Regions from separate parts of the Homo sapiens genome. Here region 2 is linked to region 1. The links are contacts of gene promoters, found by promoter capture Hi-C in blood cells and fetal thymus (Javierre and others, 2016). All regions are on one chromosome and are shown on one strand. Each heading gives the region's core, a stretch centred on a gene start or on the middle of the fragment in contact. The rest is flanking DNA. Distances are from core to core; before and after follow the strand shown.

What was found. Contacts are between HindIII fragments. The CHiCAGO score rates a contact against its expected background, and 5 or more counts as called.
Region 2: a contact is called between a fragment that was not itself captured here and the fragment with the promoter of MOGAT2 in region 1, in 7 of 17 cell types (neutrophils, M2 macrophages, M0 macrophages and 4 more). The highest score is 16.7, in neutrophils.

The regions. Positions count from the first base shown.
Region 1 is chr11:75,715,159-75,722,154 of GRCh38, forward strand. It overlaps MOGAT2 (monoacylglycerol O-acyltransferase 2), which reads left to right and starts at 2,680. Exons shown (of 6, transcript NM_025098.4): 1 at 2,680-2,821; 2 at 4,834-5,012. The coding sequence starts at 2,731. LOC105369392 (a long non-coding RNA gene) reads right to left here and starts at 3,127. Exons shown (of 3, transcript XR_950316.4): 1 at 3,048-3,127. The HindIII fragment of the contact is 5,505 bases long and covers 72-5,576 here.
Region 2 is chr11:75,859,034-75,866,029 of GRCh38, forward strand. It overlaps UVRAG (UV radiation resistance associated), which reads left to right. Exons shown (of 15, transcript NM_003369.4): 3 at 2,713-2,747. Among named protein-coding and RNA genes, the nearest start is that of UVRAG, 47 kb to the left of the region's middle. The HindIII fragment of the contact is 2,281 bases long and covers 3,539-5,819 here.

The DNA.
Region 1 (6,996 bases), core at 1,430-3,929:
ACATAACGAAGTACAAATGATTATGAAAAGCACAAACAACACTCCAGAGAATTGGGCAAAAATAAAGACCAAGCTTTTCACAGAAGAGGAAATGCCCATAAATAAAGAGATGTTCAACATTAGTGTAGGCCGGGCGCGGTGGCTCACGCCTGTAATCCCAGCACTTTGGGAGGCCAAGGCGGGCGAATCGCCTGAGGTCAGGAGTTTGAGACCGGCCTGACCAATATGGTAAAACCCCATCTCTACTAAAAATACAAAAATTAGCCAGGCATGGTGGTGGGCACCTGTAGTCCCAGCTACTTGGGAGGCTGAGGCAGGAGAATGGCTTGAACCCGGGAGGCAGAGGTTACAGTGAGCCGAGATGGTGCCAGTGCACTCCAGCCCGGGCGACAGTGGGAGATTTGGTTTCAAAAAAAAAAAATTAGTGATAAGAAAATGAAAATCAAGAGTAAAATTTGGTCTCATTTCATACCCTAGCAAGACAAGAAGAAGTCTGACCATACCAAGGGTCAGAGCAGATCCATGGGGGTGGGGGTGGGGTCTCTCGATTCTTGGGGAGACTATACCTTGATGTATTATTTTGGAAAACAGTTTGGCTCTACTCCCAAACTTGAACATTCACATATTCATAAACCCAGCAGTTTCTCCTGCTGTGTTGAAATTGTGGAGAGGAGAATGAGGATAGAAAGTAAACGGAGAGGCCAATAAGGAAGACAGAGCCAGTCTATAAAAGAGGCTGGCTGTGGAGGTAGACAGCAGCTGTTCAGTTCAAGAGACTGAAATCAACAAAACACTAGAACAAGAAGGTCATAGAAAATGATATCCAAATGGTCAGTAAGCATATTAAAATGTGCTTATATTTATTAGTTGTTAGGAAAATGCTATAACCACAATGAAGGACCACTACACACCCACCAAAATTCAGAACTCGGAATTCTTATATAAGGCTATGGGAGTGTAGATTTGTACAACCACTTTGGAAAACTCTATGGCTATCTACCATGAGACCCATCAATTCTATTTCCAGGCACATACCCAACAGAAATGTGTATAGATGTGTACTGAAAGACATGTACAGGAATGTTCGTAGCAGCAATATTCATAATAGCCAGAAACAGGTGACAGCCCAAATGCCTGTCAGCGTCCAAATGGACACTTTGTGGCATATTCACACAATGGAATGCTATACAGCAATGAAAACAAAGGCAATACAGGCACATATGATGTCTCAAAAGAGTATACACTAAATGATTCAGTTTTCATAAAGTTCAAGAACAGAGATGAGGATGGTGCTGAGCTACAGGGAGGAGAGCAGTGACTGGCAAGGCCAGAAGGGGTGCTAGGTAAGTTCTGTTTGTCGATCAGAGTGGTGATAACTTTCACTTTGTGAAAAGACATTTCTCTGTCCGCTTAGGATTTGTGCATTTTTCCGTATGTATGGTATACGTCAATTTGAAGTTGACATTTAAAAGGAGGGACTTAGAAGAACTGATAGGACATGGTGACTGGTAGAGGTGGATGGAGAAGAACAGAAGGGATCTAGTGTGACTCAGGTTTTGGCCTGAGCAACTGGGTAAATGGCATTACCCTTTACTGAGATGGGAAAGAGCAGAGGAGGAGTCAGTGGGGCAGAAGGGAGGTGGGGGAGGGAATCAAGTTCACCTTTAGACATGCTACGATGGAGGTGCCTATCAGGCATTCAAGTGAAGATGTCAAGGAGCCACCTAGAGATTCAAGTTTAGAGCCCCAGGGAGCAGAGCTGCAGATGCAGATTTGGAAGTCTTTGCTGTGTAAATACAATGCAAGGTGTGAGCCTGGATGAGATCTCAGAGAGCAGAAACTGGAGAGAAAAGAGAAGTCCCGAGGATGGAGTGGAGGAGGGGGACTCGAACAGCTGGCCTGGTGAAAGACGAGAGGCACAAAGGGAGCAGCCAGAGAGCTAGGAAGAAAACTGGGAGAGCATAGTGTCCAAAGGCCAAGTGGTTTCAAAGAAACGGGAATGATCAACCATATCTAATGCTGCCAATAGGTCAGGATGAGATCTGAGAATTGATTACTGGATTTAACATCATGGAGGTCACTAGGGAACTTGCCAAGGGCAGTTTTGTGGAAGGGTGATACCTGAAGTGTGGACCACCATTTGTGGTACCACAGATGGGAGGTGAGGACAGGAAGGCATGAAAGATAGCTCTTCCGAGAGTTTGCTGTGTGAGTGAGCAGAAAAATGGGGCAGGAGGTGGAGGACACAGTGTGGGTGGGGATTTTTAGGTGGGAGTTAGTACAGCATATGTGTGGAGGGGGAACAATGGACAGGACAAGGTTATCCTATCCATTGACCTTGGGGCCAGGTCATTGAATAGGTGGGAAGGGGGTGAGATTGCATATGCTTGGGGCTTCACCTGCCTAGTTATAGGAAGGACAAGATTTAAGCAATTGGGGAAAGGCAGCCATGCAGATAAGGCATTGCCTGAGAAAGTTGATAAAGGCTATACAACCCCTTCTCTTCCTCCTTCCTTAGCCAGGCTCCAGCAGGTAGATTCAAAGGTTTCTTGTAGGATAGAATTTCCTGCCTCAGCAGGGGCAAGGAGGCCTTGGGGCTGGGCTGGGCTGGGCTGGGTGTGGCACTCTCCCTGCCAGCTTCTACAACCTGGGGAGGGAACAAAAACCTGTGGGTGCCTCAGACCACAGCAGAGCTCACAGAACCTGCGGGAGCCAGGCTGACCCGCCAGCATGGTAGAGTTCGCGCCCTTGTTTATGCCGTGGGAGCGCAGGCTGCAGACACTTGCTGTCCTACAGTTTGTCTTCTCCTTCTTGGCACTGGGTAAGTTGGGCTGCACTGTAAGACGGGAGACCACCGCACTCAGGTGGGGCAGAGCAGCCACACCAGGTGCACACAGCACATTGATGGTGGCAAGACATTTATCCTAAAGGGGGCTTTGTTGCGCTCAGAGCCCCTGCCCAGAGAGAACTCCTGGGCCTGCCCAGAGGCTTCTTGGGGGTGGAGTGGGGTAGAAGTCACCGTCTGCTGCTCTGGGCAGGTTACTTACTCTTCCTGGCTTGCACTGTGGGTTCTCCTTTGGCACTTGGATGAAGACCAGTCTGCAGGCTGCCAAGTGGTGTGGGAAAGCCTCTGGGCGATGACGGGAAAGTTCTGGGCTCTGCAGCCTGCTCAGAGAGGAGAGATTTCCTTCTGTGCGCTCAGGGAGGAGGAAACTGGGGCTGGTAGTAGGGTAAGTGAGAGAAACAGGGAAAGAAAAGAAGGGTGGGGAGAAGGTGCAGACTGAGAGTGGACTGTGGAGTGGGCATGCTGGGTACCAGGAAACCCGGAGTCAGACTCAGCTGGGCAACTGACTTTAGCCAGCCCATGCCTGACCTCTCCAAGCCTCGACTTCACCATCTGCAGAACGGGGACAACAATGCTGGCCTTGCAGGGCTATTGTGAAGGAAATGAAGAAATGTGCTGACCTCTGCTTGGCACAGACCTGGCCTGGACCCTGGGCTGGGCTCACACTGGAGGGCATGAGCATGGCCCCTTACCCACCCCACCACTGATTTGTGGCCAGAGAGATCACCCTTGCCCAAACAATAGCTCTGCCAAAGGTAACATTTTCTAGGAGGGTCTGGATCTGTGGCTTGGGAAGGGAGAATGACTAGGAGTCCGTGGGGTTTTTCCTTTCATCTGCTGGCACCAGACAAGGTAGGAACTGCTGCTTCCAGGGCTGAGGTTCAGCCTGTACACAGATACCACTCTCCTGGTTGTTAAAATATTGACACACTCTGAACACATTGCTCAGTAGCCATCTCTCTTTCTCTCTCTCTCTCTCACACACACACACACACACACGTACTTCCTCAGAAACTCCCCCACAATTCTGTAGTGAAAAAACTCCCCCTTGGCAAAGCAGGCCCTCCAGGACCCTGCCCTAGCATCCCTTCTGGTTGAGCTGTGTCTCTGTTCTAAGGGTTTTTAGACATTTTACACATTCCTGTATACCCCCTTTGCACAGATGAGCCAAACAATCAAGGATTTGCCTCCAGTAAGGGCTGAGAAACCATCAGTCAGAGGGGAATTCCACACTAGGCCTGGTCTTAGCCCTGATGCACCCCTGATTATGGGGCGGCCAGGGGCTGGCCTCTTCCTCCCTCCCTCCTTTCAACAACAAACGTCACTGGTCACTGAAGGCAAAGGAATCAGAGCTCAGCAGGTTTGGGAACACTGTGTAGTTCAGAGTGGCCACAGACAAGAGGCAGGAGCGGGAGGGACAGGGCCAGCTCTGGGGCTCCTGGAGGCCAGGCTGAGCTACTTGGACTGTGCCCAAAGTTATGGGGAAGTCATGAAGGGCTTGAATAAGGGGAGGCACCTGGCTGGATTTATCTCTGGGAAAATGGGGCAGAGGATGAACAGAAAGAGAGCAGGAAAGGGTCTCCCTTTGCTCTGAGATCCCAAAAGATGGAAACTAGAACAGTTTATCCAACCAGTTGTCCCCATTGATTGAGCACTTAATGAGTACAAACAACTCTCCTGGGGAGAAGGAGGACAGGCAGGGGATGGAGTGAATTAGGCGGCCTGGTGCAGTGGGAGAAAGTGAGCTTTGGAGTTAGGCCTACCTAGGCTCAACGCGTGCTCCCAGTGACACTGGGCTGGCCGTAGTCCCTCTCAGGGACTTTGTCTCCTCTTTGAATGCCCCGGAAGCTGCTGTCTTCCTCCTGGGCCCGAGGATTGGACAGGACAGTGCTGCTAGTGCCAGGCCTATGGGCAGAGTTCAGTCTGAGCAATCTCACCTGCCTTCCTCTCAGACCCCTGTCCCTGACAGCTCCTTCTTCCCTCCCCAGCCGAGATCTGCACTGTGGGCTTCATAGCCCTCCTGTTTACAAGATTCTGGCTCCTCACTGTCCTGTATGCGGCCTGGTGGTATCTGGACCGAGACAAGCCACGGCAGGGGGGCCGGCACATCCAGGCCATCAGGTGCTGGACTATATGGAAGTACATGAAGGACTATTTCCCCATCTCGGTGAGTATTGAGGCTGGTTGGGGTTGGGGAGGGAGTTGGCTGGGGTGTGGTCAGGGCCAGAGTGCCGACGTCTCCATGGGAGAATATGGCCCTGCATGCACTGAGGAGGGTACTGGGCTGGGAGGCAGGAGCTAGGGCTTCCGCTACTATGTGACCTAGAGAAGAGTCCAGCTTCTCTCCGATCATGGTTTCGCATCTGCAGGGATGCGGGGCCAATATGTGGATTGATGGATGTCCAGCATTTGAAGGAGTTCTGTGGGTTATATGGTGTGAGGCATGCCTATGTATCTTAAAGGCACAAACCCATCAGCAGCCCAGGCTTGGGAGTGAAGGTAATAAACTTACAGGTTCTAAGGACCATCTAGCCTCACACTTAACATTCATCAGAAGAGGAGGCTGACACCCAGAGATGGAGGAAATGTCACCAAGGTCACACAGCAAGTTCTTTTACAGATTTCCAAGTGTGTACACTGACTGTGGGCAAAGGGACAGAGGAGAGAGCCCTGAATTGTTCTCAGATCCTACCCTGACCCTAACTCTGGCATGTGGTATATCTTTGGGCAAAGCTTTATCCTGTTCTGAGGCTCAGTCTCCCCATGTATCTAGTAAGTACACTGATTCCTCCTCCTCTGCATGCCTTCAAATCTCTGGCTTTCCGACTCCTGTCACCTCGTGGTCATTGTGGACGCTGGGCCCTGGACTTGAAGTTGTGTCCAGAGCAGAGCAGATCCCTGGATTTGAGTGAGCAGATCTTTCGGCTCCTTCAACGGAATCCCAGGCAATTTAAAGCCTTGATCTATGCAGCCAGGCAGTGATGGTTTATTGGCCAGAAGGGATAGGATGGGGAAGGCAGTGGGGACGCAGAGAAGGGACAGGCAGGGGCAGTTGGCCCTCCTCTGGAAGCAGGAGAGAAGAAAGGGGTAAGATATGGCCCGTGGAGACAGGCAGACTAGATTCTGATCCCAAGTCTGCCCCATACCATATCAGCTGTATGATCGTAGGTAAGTTGGTCTCTCTGAGCCTCAGTTTCCTCATATGTAAAATGGGGATAATGACACATACCTCACTGGGTTGTGTAGATTCAATGAGACAAAGCAAGTAAAGCACTTTGTAGGTTTTCTTTTTTTTTTGAGATGGAGTCTCGCTCTGTCACCCAGGCTGGAGTGCAATGGCACGATCTCAGCTCATTGCAACCTCCACCTCCCAGGTTCAAGCAATTCTCCTACCTCAGCCTCCCGTGTAGCTGGGGCTACAGGTGCCGGCCACCACACCTGGCTAATTTTTGTATTTTTAGTAGAGACGGGGTTTCTCCATGTTGGTCAGGCTGGTCTCGAACTCCCGACCTTAGGTGATCTGCCCACCTTAGCCTCCCAAAGTGCTGGGATTACAGGTGTGAGCCACTGTGCCTGGCTAGCACTTTGTAGGTTTTCAGTAAACAGGTAGCTAGTATTATTTTACCTCGGCAGTGGGACTCTGAGGAAGTGTGGTCGTGACCTCGAGTCTGGGGAGGACTCTGAGAGCCCAAGCCCTGCTGCTCTGACCTCCACACCTACGTAACTTCTCCCACCCCGCCTGGGAACCCTACCTCTTCCTGTCCCATCAGAAACAAGGTCTCCAGCTTGCAAAGGGGGAGGGGTAGAGGAAACAAACCCACCAAAGTTAAGCAACTTGTCTGAATTATGGGAACGCAGGGTGGTTGGGGTTCCTGCCTTGCTCCCTTCTGAGAGTCCAGGGGCCCAAGAAGGACTAGCAAAGGCTGAGCCACAGCTGGAATGCAGGAGCCTCTAGCACTGCAGTGAGCAGGGCCTCCAGGGCAAAGGGCAATGGGGGTGCTGGGCAGACAGCGGGCAGCGGCTGGCAGAGACTGCCGTGCTCACGAAGGGTGGTAGATGTGGTAAGGCGGAACATGGTCTAGCCTGGGGGGCTCAGGATGGGGGCAGTTTCCCCTGCACCTCATATGTGTTTCCTGCAGGGCCCACTCCTG
Region 2 (6,996 bases), core at 3,429-5,928, 150 kb after region 1:
TATTTAATGGTCTTTTTCATGTAGAAGTAGGTCTTGAATGATATCTTTTTGAAAATTTAGGCTGGGTGTGGTGGCTCACGCCTGTAATCCCAGCACTTTGGGAGGCCGAGGCGTGTGGATCATTTGAGGTCAGGAGTTCAAGACGAGCCTGGCCAACATGGCGAAACCTCTTCTCTACTAAAAATACAAAAATTAGCCGGGCGGTGGTGGTGTGCACCTGCAATCCCAGCTACTCAGGAGGTTGGGGCTGGAGAATCACTTGAACCCGGGAGGCGGAGGTTGCGGTGAGCCGAGATCACGCCACTGCACTCCAGCCTGGGTGACAGAGTGAGACCCTGTCTCAAAAAAAAAAAAAGAAAATTTCCTTGTATGATTTTACTCACATTGAATGGAAAAAAACTAAACAATTTTATTAATAAAATTTTATTAATTTTGTTTTAAATAATTTTAGGTTTTGTTTTAAGCAATAAAACTTAAACAATAACAATAAAAATTATAAAATATTTTAAATACATTATTTTATTTCAGCCTCGTAACAACCCTATTATATTCCAGGTGTCATTCTCCTTTGAAAGATGAAGAAATTGTGGGCCATAAAGGTTAATTGACCTATCCAGGGTCACAAAGATTGAGGTAGATTGAGGACTGGAACTATTTTTTTTTAACTCTACATTCACTCATTTTTTTATATTGTGCTATAAATTTTATTGATAATATTTTAGATGCAATAGAATGCTACACAGTGTAGGTTCATGTTTGTCATATTAGAAATAACCTCATACTCAGCAATTTCTTTCCAAATTGTATGGCTCCTTTGTTAAACTCTCTTCATTTACATTGGCATGTTCATTTTGAGGGTCTGCTGGAGAAGGCGAATTGTTTTGTTTGATTTATTCAGCCAGGTAACAAAGTTTTATTTATTTATTTATTTTGAGATGGAGTTTTGCTCTCGCTCAGGCTGAAGTGCAATGTGCAATCTCAGCTCACTGCAACCTCCACCTTCTGGGTTCAAGTGATTGTACTGCCTCAGCCTCCCCAGTAGCTGGGATTACAGGCACCCACCACCACACCTGGCTAATTTTTGTATTTTTAGTAGAGACAGGATTTCACCATGTTGGCCAGACTGGTCTTGAACTGCTGACTTCAGGTGATCTGCCCGCCTCAGCCTCCCAAAGTGCTGGGATTACAGGCGTGAGCCACCACACCCAGCCCCCAAGTTAACAAAGTTTTGGAAGAAGGAATGATACCACTCATCTTAGAGCTAGAAATATGTATTGCAAAAACTGTTTAATTTAGACACTTTGCAGATTAAGCTAAGGAATTCGCTTTCTCAAAAGAAAAAGGGATTATCTTTCTTGTGTTTTTCACTGACTTAACAGTAATATATACTTTAATTCAAACAACACAAGAATATATACAGTATTATGTAAAAATACCCTGTAATAAAAAACAATAGTTTTAAATCCCTTATGCTTTTGTTTTTTGAAAAATGTATGGTGCGTGTATGTTAGGATATATGTATATGTATACATAAATACATACATTTCTAAGTTTGTATTGTCAGTTAATGGTTGGAATAATTGGTTAACCATTTGAGGATAAAATGAAAAGAACAATACTTACGGTTTCATAGTGTTGGAGAAACAGACTTTTTCATAAGTGGTATTGTAAATTAGTATAATATTTGTATGTAACAATTTGGCAATATCTATCAAAGTCAAATTGTTCTTTGAGCGTGCAATTTCTTTTCTTTTCTTTTCTTTTTTTTTTTTAGATGGAGTCTCACTCTGTCACCCAGGCTGGAGTGCAGTAGTGCAATTCTACCCACTGCAGCCTCTGTCTCCTGGGTTCAAGCAATTCTCCTGCTTCAGCCTCCCAAGTAGCAGGGATTACAAGCATGTGCCACCACACCTAATTTTTGTATTTTTAGTAGAGATGGGGTTTCATCCTGTTGGCCATAAGAGCAGCATGGAGATGACTTGGGCAGGATAAGCAGAGGGAATATTGGAAGGTTTTCAGGAGTGTCTGAACTTCTGACACATTTTGATTGCATCTTTGAGTTTTGTGACCTTTTCCAACATACATGAAGGCTTGTAGAGTCATGAAATTTTAATGCTTACCAAGGACCTTCAATTATCTGTTCAATTCTCTAAGTTGTCTTAGAGCAATAATGAGCCCAGGGGAATTAAAGAGACATAGTGTTAGTGACAGAGGTAGAAGTAGGACTTAAGTCACCCGGTTGCTAGTGTTTTAACCAAAACTGTCAACCAGTTAACCTAGATTAAAACACTAGCAACCAGGTAACCTACATCAGTATTCACTCCACAGTACTGCAATGGGTAATCATTCGAGATGTTTGAGAAAAACAGAGCGGATGGAGTCAGTTGTGAGGGTGGAAGCGGGGAAGGAAGAAGGTTGGAGCTTTTAAGGGCTCAAATTAGAATTGGAGGAAAAAGGAGTCAGTAAGGTAATAATCACTAAAGCAAATCTGAAAGGTTTTATCCTTCTTTACTGAATTTTTTTCCCTTTAAAACACTTTCATTGAATTTTTACTTTTTTTTTTAACAGATAAAGATATAGAGAGAATAAATCCCTTGAAAATATTTTAAATGTTTTACTGCAACATATGTTAAAAAAATTAGAGGATTAACAGTTGGTTAATGGGCTTATTTTCTTTCATATCACTTATTGTTCTTTTTTCTTCTTTTCCAGAATTTTATAGAAGTGAAGTGATTAAGAATTCCTTGGTAAGTTTGCTTTCTGACGGGTACATATGACTAAGTATATACACCTGTTTTCAGAAAATGCAGAAATGTAAAATAAGTTGAGGTTCAGCTCTGGTTTTATGATACTTTAACGGATCTGCTCAATTGTTAAATCATCATTGTTTTGTTCATTGCTGTATCTCTAGTGCTTATGTAGTAGGTGCTTGATAAATATTTACTGAATGAAATGACAAGTTAATGGGTGTAGCACACCGACATGGCACATGTATACGTATGTAACAAACTGGCACGTTGTGTACATGTACCCTAAAACTTACAGTATAATAATAATAAAATAAAAAAAGAAAAAAATATTTACTGAATGAACTGATTTTTCTGTTAAGAACTTTAAATGATAAAAACTCAAATTCTATAGTTTTCTCACTTCCATTTCCTATAAATAAGTTTCTGATTATTTCACTCGCCATATGTCATAATAAATGATATCTTTGTTCAGATATAGTTCTTAAGAATTTTATGCCTCGGGCTTTTGTATAGGATACTCCTACTTGTTTCTTGGCAGTGGCATTGCTCAGTTGGAAAGTTGTAAATATCCTACTTTTGATAATGTATACACTGGATATTTGCATAAATGGCTCAATTTATTAGGCTGTGTTGAAAACAAAGAAGACCTTTCTGGTAATGAAAATATCTTAGTAATGGTCCAGTACCATCTTGGATTTGGCCCTTGTCTGCTTTTCCACCTCATCTCCTCCTCTTTTCCGCACTCATTGTGTTCCAGGTGTACCTCTTTCAGTGCTTCAAACACACAAAGCTTATCTTGTTCCTTATGTCTAGAACACTTGTTTCCTCAGCTGTTCGCTTGACTGAAGAGGTCTTCAAGGTCTCAGCTATGTCACTTCAGCAAGACCTTCTATGGCTATCTCATCTAGAGCAGTTCTCTTTCCCCAGTCATGCTTTTTCATGACCCTGTTTTATTTTCTTTAAAGTGTTCATCACTGTTGGAAACTCTTGCTTGCTTACTTGTTTGTGTTTATGAACTGCCTCCCACCTGCTAGAACATAAGTTCCATGAAAGCACGGGCCCTGCCAATCTCGCTGCTCCTGTTACCCTGGAGTCTAGAATAGTATAGATGCTCAGTAACTACTTGTTAAATGAATAAAGGGTTATCAATGATGTGTTGTATTTACATGTTATCCCATTTTGATCCTTAGAACAACCTGTAAAGTAGATGGGGCAGATCTTAGGAAGCTGGTACCCAGAGAGTTCCAACAACTTTTGCAGAGTCAGAGGACTGCAGGACCAGAACCCCAATCTAGACCTTCTGTCTTTGTCTCTACTCTTTCCTCTTCATCAAGCTGTCTTTGAAATGTCTCTAAAATATCAATAGATTTGGATTCTAGGCCAGACAGTTCCTTGAGTCCATCTCTGGGGAGGTCCCATCACCAGTAAAGCTCTGGTTCTACGTATATTATATGATATAAAATAAGTGCCTAGCATCATGCTTGATGTATAATAGTTACTGAGTAAATATTAGTTTTTCCTCCTCTCCTTGCTCAGGTGGAAACAGAAATAGTTTGCAGACAGTTAAGAGCTAGGAGTGATTATGGGGAAGATAGAACAGAATTTTGTGTTCATTTATTCTGTTCTCTTTTCCATAGTCAAATGTTGGGGATGGTTTTTTAATATCCATTGCTTTTCCCCCAGATTTGTGTTATAATAGACCCTATGTCATAATAATAGACCCTATGTCATAATGGCACTTTAGTGTATTGTTCTGCATTATTAGTATTGGATTTATTAGATCTTCCCTTGGCTCCCAAATCCATATTTCTAAAGATCTCTGAATGTTAACTCCTATCTTCAACTCCTTTTGGCCTCCATCTTCAATTGCTTTGGAGCTATCTGTGAGGTCATGATACCTTCATCCTTTGTGCACTTAGGTGGAATATTGTCTCCAAAGAATACTGTAGAATGGATTCAAGACAAGGGGGAGGATTGGACTAAAACACTTGTAGGTCCCTTTCAACTCACAGTTTATACTATAATTGTTTTCCGAATGTACCTCATACAGTGTTTGCTTGCATTGTGATTTCATGGACATTCTGTTTCACAAAGTAGATCAAATCTCCTGGAGGTCACAGACTGTATGTCTTTATATCCCCTTAGTTCCTAGTGTATTTCTATTGGGTAGTTGTTTGACAAATATTAATTTTTTGATGTTCCTTTTAAAGGTATTCTTTGAGATTTTGGCAAGGATTCTTTTTTTTTCTTTTATATCTTAATAAAGGTTCTATTAACTTTTTTTTTTTTTTTGAGACAGGGTCTCTCTATCACCCAGGCTGGAGTGCAGTAGCATGATCTCAGCTCACTGCAACCTCCACCTTGTGAGCTGAGGCGATCCTCTTACCTCAGCCTCCCAAGGAGCTGGGACTACAGGCATGAACCACCATGCCTGACTAATTTTTGTATTTTTTGTAGAGACAGGGTTTCACCATGTTACCCAGGCTGGCCTGGAACTCCTGACCTCAAGCAATCCGCCTAACTCAGCCTCCCAAAGTGCTGGGATTACAGGCATGAGCCACTGTGCCCAGCCTAATTAACTCTTTCTTTCTGAGGGAGCTCTTTTTTCTTAGCTTTTTGCTAATTCATTGTGATTGGTTCAGATTGATGGGCATTGGGCAGTACAGGAGTCAACAACCCTCAGAGAATATGCCAGAGATGGCACGTTGTTACTGCCCTTCTTGCTGCCTCTGAAGAAGCACTGCCAGGTCAACAGCAGAATTGGTTGGTTTCTTTCCTGTTTAGGATTTTGCGATTTTTAAGCTATTGTGATATTTGCTGAATAGTTAGTCGTTTAAATGCTTTTGTATTTATTTGTTACCATTGTGCTTGGCACACAGAAGACGCTCAGCAAATGTTTCTTGAATAAATGAATTCTTCCCTAAGGATATTTATTAACTTCGAAGTTATATCCTGAAACTGCAAATCTTCAATTAGATACTAAAGGATTAGGCAAAGATTTGAATACTTTATTTCTAATTAAGGCTTTGAGTAAATTTTCACTCTGGTGAACTAAGTTGGACTTTGATAAGCTTGTAAGTATCTTTTTCACTCATGTAACTTTGAGATACAGAATGTTGTTCCTTGTTTATATTCTGAGCTTGGTTCTTAGACCAGAGTGGCTTGGTTTCATCACTCTGACGTCAAAGGAGACATGGAAAAATGGACTCAAGATTAAAAAGAGGCCGAGTGTGGTGGCCTACGCCTGTAATCCCAGCACTTTGGGAGGCTGAGGCGGGCGGATCATCTGAGGTCAGAAGTTTGAGACCAGCCTGACCAACATGGAGAATCCCCATCTCTACTAAAAATATAAAATTAGCTGGGCGTGGTGGCACATGCCTGTAATCTCAGCTACTCGGGAGGCTGAGGCAGGAGAATTGCTTGAACCTGAGAGGCGGAGGTTGCGGTGAGCCGAGATCGTGCTGTTGCACTCCAGCCTGGGCAACAAGAGTGAAACTCCATCTCAAAAAAAAAAAAAAAAAAAAAAGATAAAAAAGAGTGTTTTCCCCCAAATATTAGATAAACTGTTCTTATGCCCTTATTCTGTGCTTCTTTCTAACTCTTGAATACTCCAGATCACCTGTCCAATAAAACTTTCTGCAATGATGGTAATGTTCTACGTATTGTTCAGTACAGTTGCCACTGGCCACATGTGGCCATTGAGCACTTGAAATGTGGTTCAGTCCTACTGCAGAACTGAATTTTAAATTTTGTTTAATTTTAATTTAAATAGCCACATGAGGCTAGTAGATATCATATTAGACAGCACAGTTCTAGATGCTTCTGAAAAGCTTTCTTTTTTTTTTTTTGAGATGTTGTCTTGCTCTTGTCGCCCAGGCTGGGGTGCAGTGGCACGATCTCGGCTCATTTTAACCTCCGCCTCCCGGGTTCAAATGATTCTCTTGCTTCAGCCTCCTGAGTAGCTGGGACTACAGGTGCCCGCCAGCATGCCCGGCTAATTTTTGTATTTTTAGTAGAGACAGGATTTCGCCATGTTGGCCAGGCTGGTGTTGAACTCCTGATCTCCGGTGATCTGCCCACCTCAGCTTCCCAAAGTGCTGGGATTACAGGCGTGAGCCACCACGCCTGGCCAGGGCTTATAATCATTAACAGGAAGAAATTTCACCTTTTTGTTTTTTTAAAAGTAGTTTGGCCCAGGTGCAGTGGCTCATGCCTATAATCTTAGCACTTTGGGAGACCAAGGTGG